Regions from separate parts of the Homo sapiens genome. Here region 2 is linked to region 1. Evidence: promoter capture Hi-C in human tissues and cell types (Jung and others, 2019). All regions are on one chromosome and are shown on one strand. The core of a region is centred on a gene start or on the middle of the fragment in contact, and the rest is flanking DNA. Distances in the headings are between cores, read along the strand shown.

Region 1 (4,560 bases), core at 343-2,842:
GGGAATCAGAAGCACCACTGTCCATCCGGAATTAAATCCACATCCCAGCATCTTCTGCAAATATTTCACTAATTATTTCCTCTCGGAACTCCTCCCCTCGTGCTCCTTCCTCTGGTGAGGCCGGCGCTCCCCTCCCAGGCCGCAGCGGACAGACAGGGATTGGGTTCCGTGTGCCTGCCACACCAGGCAGGCTCTTGCGGCTCCCAACTAGGCGGCCTAAATGAGGGAGGAAAGAGGAGGCGCATCGCTGATTCACCGCGTCAAGAGCACTGACTTTCCTTGGAGGTGTGAGGTCCACGCACCCCAGCCACGCACTTGGGGGTCGGTTTGCGGTGCCTCCCCCTCCAGTCCCAGTGAAATCCCCACAGTTTTTCCTACTATCACTGACTTGCCTTGCACTCCGCGTGCATTGGCCACACATCCTCGCCTCCTCCACCCGCTCCGCCGCCGGTTTTCTTGGAAGTTAAATCTTGGAGGATTTGTCCACACCTTAAGAGAAGAAAATCCACGTTAGCTGGCAGCAACGGAGATCCCAGCATGCTGGCATGCCCAAGTCTGCCCAGGTTCCCCCAAGGCCATGCCCGCCGCCCGGGAAGTCACTGCCCGCACCCCTCACGTTTCTTCAGCCGCCCCTGGGCGCTGCGTCTAACCTGAAGACACCAGGCCTCTTCCCGGATCCACTCGACTTACCCAGGCCGCTGCCAATCCCAGCTCCTTCCCCAGCGCCTCATTTCCGATTTTTTCATATGCTAAGTCGTTTAACAACTCCAAGTAGCCAGTTATGGCTTCTTTATTTATAGGTTCCCTGCTATTTTACGTCGTTTTTATTTCTCTCGGCAACTATTCTAGTAGATTAATCAATAGCCATTTTCTGACCTTCGGGAACCCCAGCTGATGCTTTTTGTGGCCGCACGAAAAAATACATACAGGAAAACACGCCCGCATCAAGCCGGGAAAGAGCAGGTAGGACCTGAGTGGTTTGGTTGGGGGAGGGGGAAAAAGACATCTCAGCAGGTGTCTTCCCCGGAATGAGCACTGAGGCCAGAGGGGAATCTGAAATCTAATTAGCAGGAGGGAGCCGGGTGCGCTGCTCTTACTCTTTAAAGCTAAAAACAATGAAACAAAAAGCAAAACAGAGACTAAGTTTTGCTTTTTAAAACACGATATGGGAACCTCGTTCTAGGTCGCCCAGTCCCTGTCTAAGGAGTGTGACAAAGTGGGGGGGAGAAGGGCGGAAGGGAGAGGGGGCGGGGAAGGCAGGGCAGCGACAGTCGCACAGTCCCGCGGACGCTCCCAGGCCCACGCCCTGACTCGCTCACACCCACCCACACTCACACCCACCCGCTCCCTGGGCCCCAGGGCCCGGATCCAGCCTGGGTGGGGGGGTCTCCGGGCGGGCCGCAGCGCCCTCCGTGCCCCGGGGATGCTGGCGCACAGTGCGGAGCGGAGTTGCGCGTCTCTCGTCCCTTTGTTGACAATTCCCTGAACCAACTTGAGTTTGGCCGGCTCGGCCGCGGCCCTGACGTCACGCACGGTCACGTGGCCCCGCCTCCCGCTGGATCTTTAAGTAGAAAGTAATCTATCAGGCCAGTCCTTAAAACGGGACTTTCGACTACCGGGGCTTCGGCGTCCCTGACACCCAGCCCCCTGCCCCCCCGCTACTGTCCCTGCCCGCGCCCTCCCGAGCTGCTCGGCGCCCGGCGTCCCGCGCCCGCCTGGACCGCTCCTGCGCCCCACGCCAGGGCCAGAGGCCGAGGAAGGCGGGCTAAGTGAGGGGGCGCGGCGTGGAGAACCGCCGGGGCCGGGAGCGGTAGCGAGCGCCTAGTACCGAGCGCCAGGGACGGCAGGAGTTCGCGGAGCGCGGCCGCTGGGGGCGGACGGCAGAGCCCGCGCCACGCGATGCGGGGCCGCCGAGTGTGAGCTGAGCCCAGCGGGCCCCAAGCCACCTGCGGCCCCCTCCCCTCTCCCTGCCCCCCATCTTTCGGGGGCACTCAAACCCTCTTCCCCTGAGCTCCGTGGCAGCCCCCGAACACCCTCATCGCCCGCTGCCCCCTCCCCGCCGCCGCTACCAACCCCGAGGAGGGATGACCCTCTCCGGCGGCGGCAGCGCCAGCGACATGTCCGGCCAGACGGTGCTGACGGCCGAGGACGTGGACATCGATGTGGTGGGCGAGGGCGACGACGGGCTGGAAGAGAAGGACAGCGACGCAGGTTGCGATAGCCCCGCGGGGCCGCCGGAGCTGCGCCTGGACGAGGCGGACGAGGTGCCCCCGGCGGCACCCCATCACGGACAGCCTCAGCCGCCCCACCAGCAGCCCCTGACATTGCCCAAGGAGGCGGCCGGAGCCGGGGCCGGACCGGGGGGCGACGTGGGCGCGCCGGAGGCGGACGGCTGCAAGGGCGGTGTTGGCGGCGAGGAGGGCGGCGCGAGCGGCGGCGGGCCTGGCGCGGGCAGCGGTTCGGCGGGAGGCCTGGCCCCGAGCAAGCCCAAGAACAGCCTAGTGAAGCCGCCTTACTCGTACATCGCGCTCATCACCATGGCCATCCTGCAGAGCCCGCAGAAGAAGCTGACCCTGAGCGGCATCTGCGAGTTCATCAGCAACCGCTTCCCCTACTACAGGGAGAAGTTCCCCGCCTGGCAGAACAGCATCCGCCACAACCTCTCACTCAACGACTGCTTCGTCAAGATCCCCCGCGAGCCGGGCAACCCGGGCAAGGGCAACTACTGGACCCTGGACCCGCAGTCCGAGGACATGTTCGACAACGGCAGCTTCCTGCGGCGCCGGAAACGCTTCAAGCGCCACCAGCAGGAGCACCTGCGCGAGCAGACGGCGCTCATGATGCAGAGCTTCGGCGCTTACAGCCTGGCGGCGGCGGCCGGCGCCGCGGGACCCTACGGCCGCCCCTACGGCCTGCACCCTGCGGCGGCGGCCGGTGCCTATTCGCACCCGGCAGCGGCGGCGGCCGCGGCTGCTGCGGCGGCGCTCCAGTACCCGTACGCGCTGCCGCCGGTGGCACCGGTGCTGCCTCCCGCTGTGCCGCTGCTGCCCTCGGGCGAGCTGGGCCGCAAAGCGGCCGCCTTCGGCTCACAGCTCGGCCCGGGCCTGCAGCTGCAGCTCAATAGCCTGGGCGCCGCCGCGGCCGCTGCGGGCACAGCGGGCGCCGCGGGCACCACCGCGTCGCTCATCAAGTCCGAGCCAAGCGCGCGGCCGTCGTTCAGCATCGAGAACATCATAGGTGGGGGCCCCGCGGCTCCTGGGGGCTCGGCGGTGGGCGCTGGGGTCGCCGGCGGCACTGGGGGTTCAGGGGGCGGCAGCACGGCGCAGTCGTTTCTGCGGCCACCCGGGACCGTGCAGTCGGCAGCGCTCATGGCCACCCACCAACCGCTGTCGCTGAGCCGGACGACTGCCACCATCGCGCCCATTCTTAGCGTGCCACTCTCCGGACAGTTTCTGCAGCCCGCAGCCTCGGCCGCCGCCGCTGCTGCGGCCGCCGCTCAAGCCAAATGGCCGGCGCAATAGGGACGCGCCAATGGCCGGGACCCAGGGTCCGGCGGCGGCCTCGAGCAACAAATGCACCTCCAGGCTGCGCGCCCTGTCCCAAGCCCGGTCCCGGTCCCGCTGCCCAATCCTGGACTCTGCCTCTCCCCAATTTCCTTTCCCCTGAGCCCCCAACGCCTACCTTCCGCGGCCTCCATCCCCTCGCGCACACCTAAGCTGGTCGAGCAAACTCACCGCGCGCCCGCCGGGGATAGCTTTCCATACAGGTAAAACCGAAAACCGAATTTTCCAAAAATGCACCCCGACGGCGCCTGCTCTTAGTACCGTGGGGATGGGAGGGAAATTCTTTGTATATATTTGTAAAAAAATTATTGACTTTCCTTTTGGGGTTTTTATTTTTTTAAGAAAAAACAAATTCCGTAGATTTAGAGCTCTGAACTTTCATTTTTTTTGAAGGTTCACTCTCCGAAGTTTTATCTGAGAAAAGAATGTATAGAGACGTTGGGAGATTTTAAATATAAAAAATTTTCAAAAAGGCAAAAAGTGTCATTCTATTATAAAAGTCTGTTTATATATGAATGAATATATATGGTATTCTAAATGTTATTCCATCGTGTTGTACACAACTTTGTAAATAAATTTTTAAAATGCCCAGCCTAGTGTTTTATTTAGTTGTCTGAAGTAAATGGCAAGATTTTTAAATGGTATTTATTTGCCTTTTCTCCTCCCCAGAAAATCAAGGAATTTCAAGTAATGGCCTTTTCAAACTTTTTAAATTCATAATTTGAGTGTAAGAAAATTTTAATTGGAGAAAGGAAATAGTATGCCTAATTTAAATTGTGTTACTATTTTTCTTTTAGTTTTCACATAAAATCAGGATGTGAGTGATATCATTCATATCAACCCATTAAATCTAAATGACCAGACATTTCTGTAGATAAAGTAAGCTGTCATTTAAAAAAAGAAACCGAAACAACAGCAGTCTTTAAATTTTTTTAAAAAATGACTAGACTTGTATCTTCCACAATGAAAACTTCCCAAATGAGAGAGTTCTTGGTCA
Region 2 (4,741 bases), core at 384-2,883, 360 kb before region 1:
CCTCACTGTCCCAGAGTGGCCAAGCCCACTTCTTGAAATAACCAGCTGCCAGGACCCCTGGGACGGCGGGAGACGGGAGAGGCTTCCTGCCCTAGTGTGAGGAACTGAGCCACCGACCTGACCACTAGGAGGCAGGATCACATTACCTAACTCACTGGCAGGCTCACCCAGGGGCCTGGACGCCTTTGAAAAGAATCTGCTTGCTCTGGGTCCAAGAGTAACCCAGCCCTGGTTCATCAAGAACAATAAAGAGAAGGAGTTTGCCTTTGAATTCTGGCTCTGACACTTACTATCTGTGGGACCCTAGAGAAGTCACTAACCTTTGCAAGCCTCAGTTACCTCATCTGTAAAATGGAGGCAGTGATGTCTGCCCCTCAGGGTGGTTGTGAGGATTAGAAATGGCACACAGTGGGTCCTTGGTAAGTAACAGCTATTATGTGCAAAAAGGGTGCTCATGAAATTTGTCCCCACAAACATGCCTAAATCCTCCCTACCCACATACCACTTAGGCAGATACAATTCGGTTTGGGCAGCTTAAGAGTAACAGGGTTGGAAACTTGAGCCCTTGGTACGAAGCCCCCAGCTGCTCCCTTTGGAACATGCTGAAAGGGATGGAGAAAGCTGCAGGGACTCCATATGCCAACTGCCCTGGCAGGACCCTGCCCGAAGGGTCGCAATCTCTGTCCTGTTTTGGGAAACAGAATCGTGTGTCCTTAATCCTCCTTATGGGAAAAAGTTGGGCAATGGAGTCCAGGCGAGAACGCCAGAGCTTGGATTCTACTGGGTCAGTGAACAAACACGTGCCCCTCAGGGGTGGAGTTGGAGGCTGAAGAGGCATTTGAAGAAAAAGACCCAGTGGGTGTAGGTGGCCCCTTGCAGGTCAGCCACCTGAGGGCTGTCTACCCTGCTACTCCCCTGTCTTACAAGTGTTAGAGCCAGAAGAGACCTCGGGCTCAGTGGTGCCCACAGATGGGTTTTATTTGACCTGTGTTTCCCACACTTCCTGGCAGCTCAGGCTCTGGATAGGGAGTCAGAAGACAGCTTCTGCCTTACGTTGCCTTTCAAAACTATGACTTACTCTCATTGACGCAAACTGATTTGCATCCAAAACCCTAGCTGTAAGGAAATGAGAAATGTGGTATTTGATGTTGTGGTCTCTGAAGGACAAAAGGCCACCCAGAAAAAGAGGGGGAATGTGGGAGCCAGCACCCCCATATCCTTCACAGGTGCCAACATGGAAGGAATCCAGAGCTTTCACAAGAAAGTCCAGCTTTTCTGGGCAACTTAGAAGACCTGATAGCAGTGGGCTGTCACTCTCACATCGGCAGTCTGCTGGTGTGAAGCGGTGGCTGCGCCCCAGCTGGGCTTTTGCTCTCCCATTCTCCCCAAGCACCACCAGCCTGGCCCCTGACAGCCATGGAGTTTGCAACCCCCACCTTAGAGACTGGACCCCTCTTCAGGTGACGGCTTGGTTTAGCCTCTTGCCTTATGGATAAAGAAAGCAGGGCCAGGCGAGAGGACTTCCTCTGGGTTCTGTGGCCCTCGGTTGCCACTGTGGAGGCTGGAGCTCATCCTCCTGATTCTCCAGTGCCCCCTGTTTTCACCACATTGCTCTGCCTCCACTTGGTGTTATATAAACCGTGGCCTGAGTAGGGGACACGAATAGTGGAATCCCATGGATGCACTTTCCATGTCAAGCTTGGCAGGACTCACTTTTGGGATGGCCTCACAGTATCCAATTGGTGGTCCTGAGTTTTCAAACAACAGTTAAATTATGTTCTTTATTCTCTCTTTTAAAAGGCAAGGAAGAGTGTAACATATTTCCCACAAAACGATTAACATTTAATAAAAAGTTTTAATGTTATCAGGAAGATTAGGCTCTCCAGAATGATTCATTCCCAGAGGGTTTCAGATGGCCACAGTTTTAGTAAAATTGCTCTCATCTGGAGAGCACCTTTCACTTACCCAAAGCATTTTCATGTGTGGCGATGCATTGCAATCTTTAACATTTTTTTTTAATGTTTAAATCATGTAATCGTCCTTTAAATGAAATCTTACTTGAAACCTCAATATATAATGGAGCTACAAACAGAACAGTTCTAGGTGAAGCTGGGCTGAGAGACTCTGAATCCCACCCATGGACTCCCTCGCTTCCCACCCACCCTGGAGGCGCCGCCATGCAGCCTAGGTCCGGGCTTCTCCACACCTGCTGTCTCTCATCCACAGAATGCAGATTCCGTGGCTTCATATTGCCCCGCTGATTCCAATCTCGGAGTTGAGGCCTGGGCATCTGCATTTTAACAAGCCCACACAAGGTGGTTTTTATGCATTCCGAAGCTTGAGAAACTCCATCCTAGGCTTCCAGGGAGCATCGTTTGTAAACTCATTCCTTCTGTTTTGACATAAATTGAGTAGGTATTATTATCCTGATTTTACAGTTGACACTATGTTTGCCCAGGGTTGCACATTTCACTGGTGGGGACAGAAGCTAAACCCTGGGCCCTTCAACATGGTGTATCCCCTGCATTCTTCCCATCAGACCATGCGGCAAGAATGGATAGAATGGGGTAAGCACCTGACACCATGTGAGCCCAGGCCCACATTCTATCAAAGGGGGTATCAAAGGCCACCAGATTGTCTCTAGCTCTTTCCCTATCTTTCTCGGAGAAAGGAGAAAGGTGTCACACAATGGATGGAGTATGCCAGTCACATGGGTCTGAATTTGGATCCTCCCCTTCCATTTCCCAGTCATGAGCCTCAGTTATAAAGATTAGAAAGCATACAGTTGGTCCTCTGTATCTGTACGTTTCAGATCCATGGATTCAACTACCTGCTGATGAAAAATATTCAGAAAAAAGGAACAAATAATAATACAACAACAAAAATTAATACAAATTTTAAAAACAATGTAGCAGCTATTTACATAGTATTTACGTTGTAATAGGTATTATTAGAAATCTAGAGATGATTTTTTTTTTTTTTTGAGAAGGAGTTTCGCTCTTGTTGCCCAGGCTGGAGTGCAATGGCACGATCTTGGCTCACTGCAACCTCCGCCTCCCAGGTTCAAGGGATTCTCCTGCCTCAGCCTCCCGAATTACTGGGATTACAGGCATGCACTACCACGCCTGGCTAATTTTGTATTTTTAGTAGAGATGGGGTTTCTCCATGTTTGTCAGGCTGGTCTTGAATTCCTGACCTCAGGTGATCTGCCCGCCTCAGCATCCCAAAGTGCTGGGATTACAGGCATGAGCCACCGCGCCCAGCCAGAGATGATTTAATATATGGGAGGAAGCATGTAGGTTACATGCAAATACTATACCATTTGATATTGGGGACTTGAGCATCTATATCTTGGTATCCCTGGGGTTCTTGAACCAATCCCCTGGGGATACAGAGGAATGACTGAACATGTAAATGGCCTAGCAGATGCCTCACCTCAAATGCTTAATAAATTGAGAGCTGTTATTGCTCTTACCCTTAAAGTGTGGCCTCGTGCAAAGAGGGGCCCTGTGTAGACGACTGTCCTCTTGTACCTCTCTGGGTCAGGTCCCTGGTAAGCAGACTGTGTCATCCCCAGCAGCAAGGCCCACAGGCGTAAATGTGGGACAACTAGGGTCCCACAGGACACCGCTAACAGGAATGTCCTGGTCCGGAGCACAGATTGTTCAGAGAAAGAGCCATGTCCATGAAGCAAAGAGGGATTCGTTCTCCTCTGTGGCTTGGCCTCCGCCTGCGGGGAGACCTTCGTTTTGTAAATGGCTCATTTCCCTCACAGCATCACCCACCTTCCCTGAGTCACTGCCACCTTTTCATATGGATCATCAAGAGTTGGAAGGGGGCCTGGGGATCCCAGGACTGGCTCCACGCCACTTGTATCCTTCAGCTAATCCCCCCAGTGGGACGATGGCCCAGGAGAGCGGCTAGCGGGCCCCAGCATCTGCCCCAGCGTCCTGAACCAGGATGACAGGCTCTGTAAGTGAGCCTCCTTCCAGCTCCAGGCAGCCGCCCGGCGGGTCCTCAAGGCCCGCTACCCTATACCCTACAGCTGCATCTCCACTCTCTGATGGGTGCAGTAGCCTTCCTGTGAACTGGTGTCCCTGAGTGGGAGCCTTCCAGGGTAGCCTTCCAAGGCTGCTTCTCATGGCCGTGACCCAAAAGGGGAGGATCTGCATCCCAGGCCCACATGGGGGCGTGGACGATACCGGTGCTCAGAGTGGGCCACTCCTGGATTGAAGAGAGATGGCATTTGGGGCAGTGTGAGCCTGAAAGAGAAACTGTCTCCTAGGAAAAGAAGGCAATTGGGCCACGACTCAGAGAGGATGTGCAGAAAGGAGGGGAGGAATAAGAACGAGGATCCCAAGCAACCCCTCGTCCACTGTGCCGGCCCGGGGTCATCTCTGCAGCAGGAAGCTGACTGGTACTTCCTCACTCCCCATATGGAGGAGTCACACTGGTCAGCTTTTCCAAGTCACCTATCCAGGCCCCCAGCCCTTCATGTACCCCCTACTTCCCTCATCAAATCTCTGTGCCCAGAACGCCATCTTCCCTTTCACAGAGAACTCAACCCACCCACTGGACTCCAAGCTTCTGGCCTCTGTGGTGAACCCCAGGGAGGTGAAGCCCTCTTTCCTCCCTGCTCCTAGAGCCTGGGACCCTTCCAAGATATAACACTCTCACATTGTTTCATACCTCTTGTGTGTATGTGTCTGTTTACACCCTTGATTGAACTTCTTGCCATATT

What was found. Contacts are between HindIII fragments. The study calls those that stand out against the background at their distance.
Region 2: a fragment that was not itself captured here is called in contact with the fragment with the promoter of FOXD3 in region 1 in 1 of the 25 tissues and cell types used here (stomach).

The regions. Positions count from the first base shown.
Region 1 is chr1:63,320,975-63,325,534 of GRCh38, forward strand. FOXD3 (forkhead box D3) reads left to right here and starts at 1,593. Exons shown (of 1, transcript NM_012183.3): 1 at 1,593-4,154. The coding sequence starts at 2,085. The coding sequence ends at 3,521. It overlaps FOXD3-AS1 (FOXD3 antisense RNA 1), which reads right to left and starts at 3,467. Exons shown (of 3, transcript NR_121637.1): 1 at 3,381-3,467; 2 at 393-489; 3 at 1-216. RefSeq lists silencers at 1,201-1,510, 1,631-1,710 and an enhancer at 2,034-2,723. The HindIII fragment of the contact is 29,021 bases long and covers 1-4,560 here.
Region 2 is chr1:62,963,254-62,967,994 of GRCh38, forward strand. No RefSeq gene overlaps it. Among named protein-coding and RNA genes, the nearest start is that of LINC01739, 47 kb to the right of the region's middle. RefSeq lists an enhancer at 3,440-3,940. The HindIII fragment of the contact is 3,654 bases long and covers 1-3,460 here.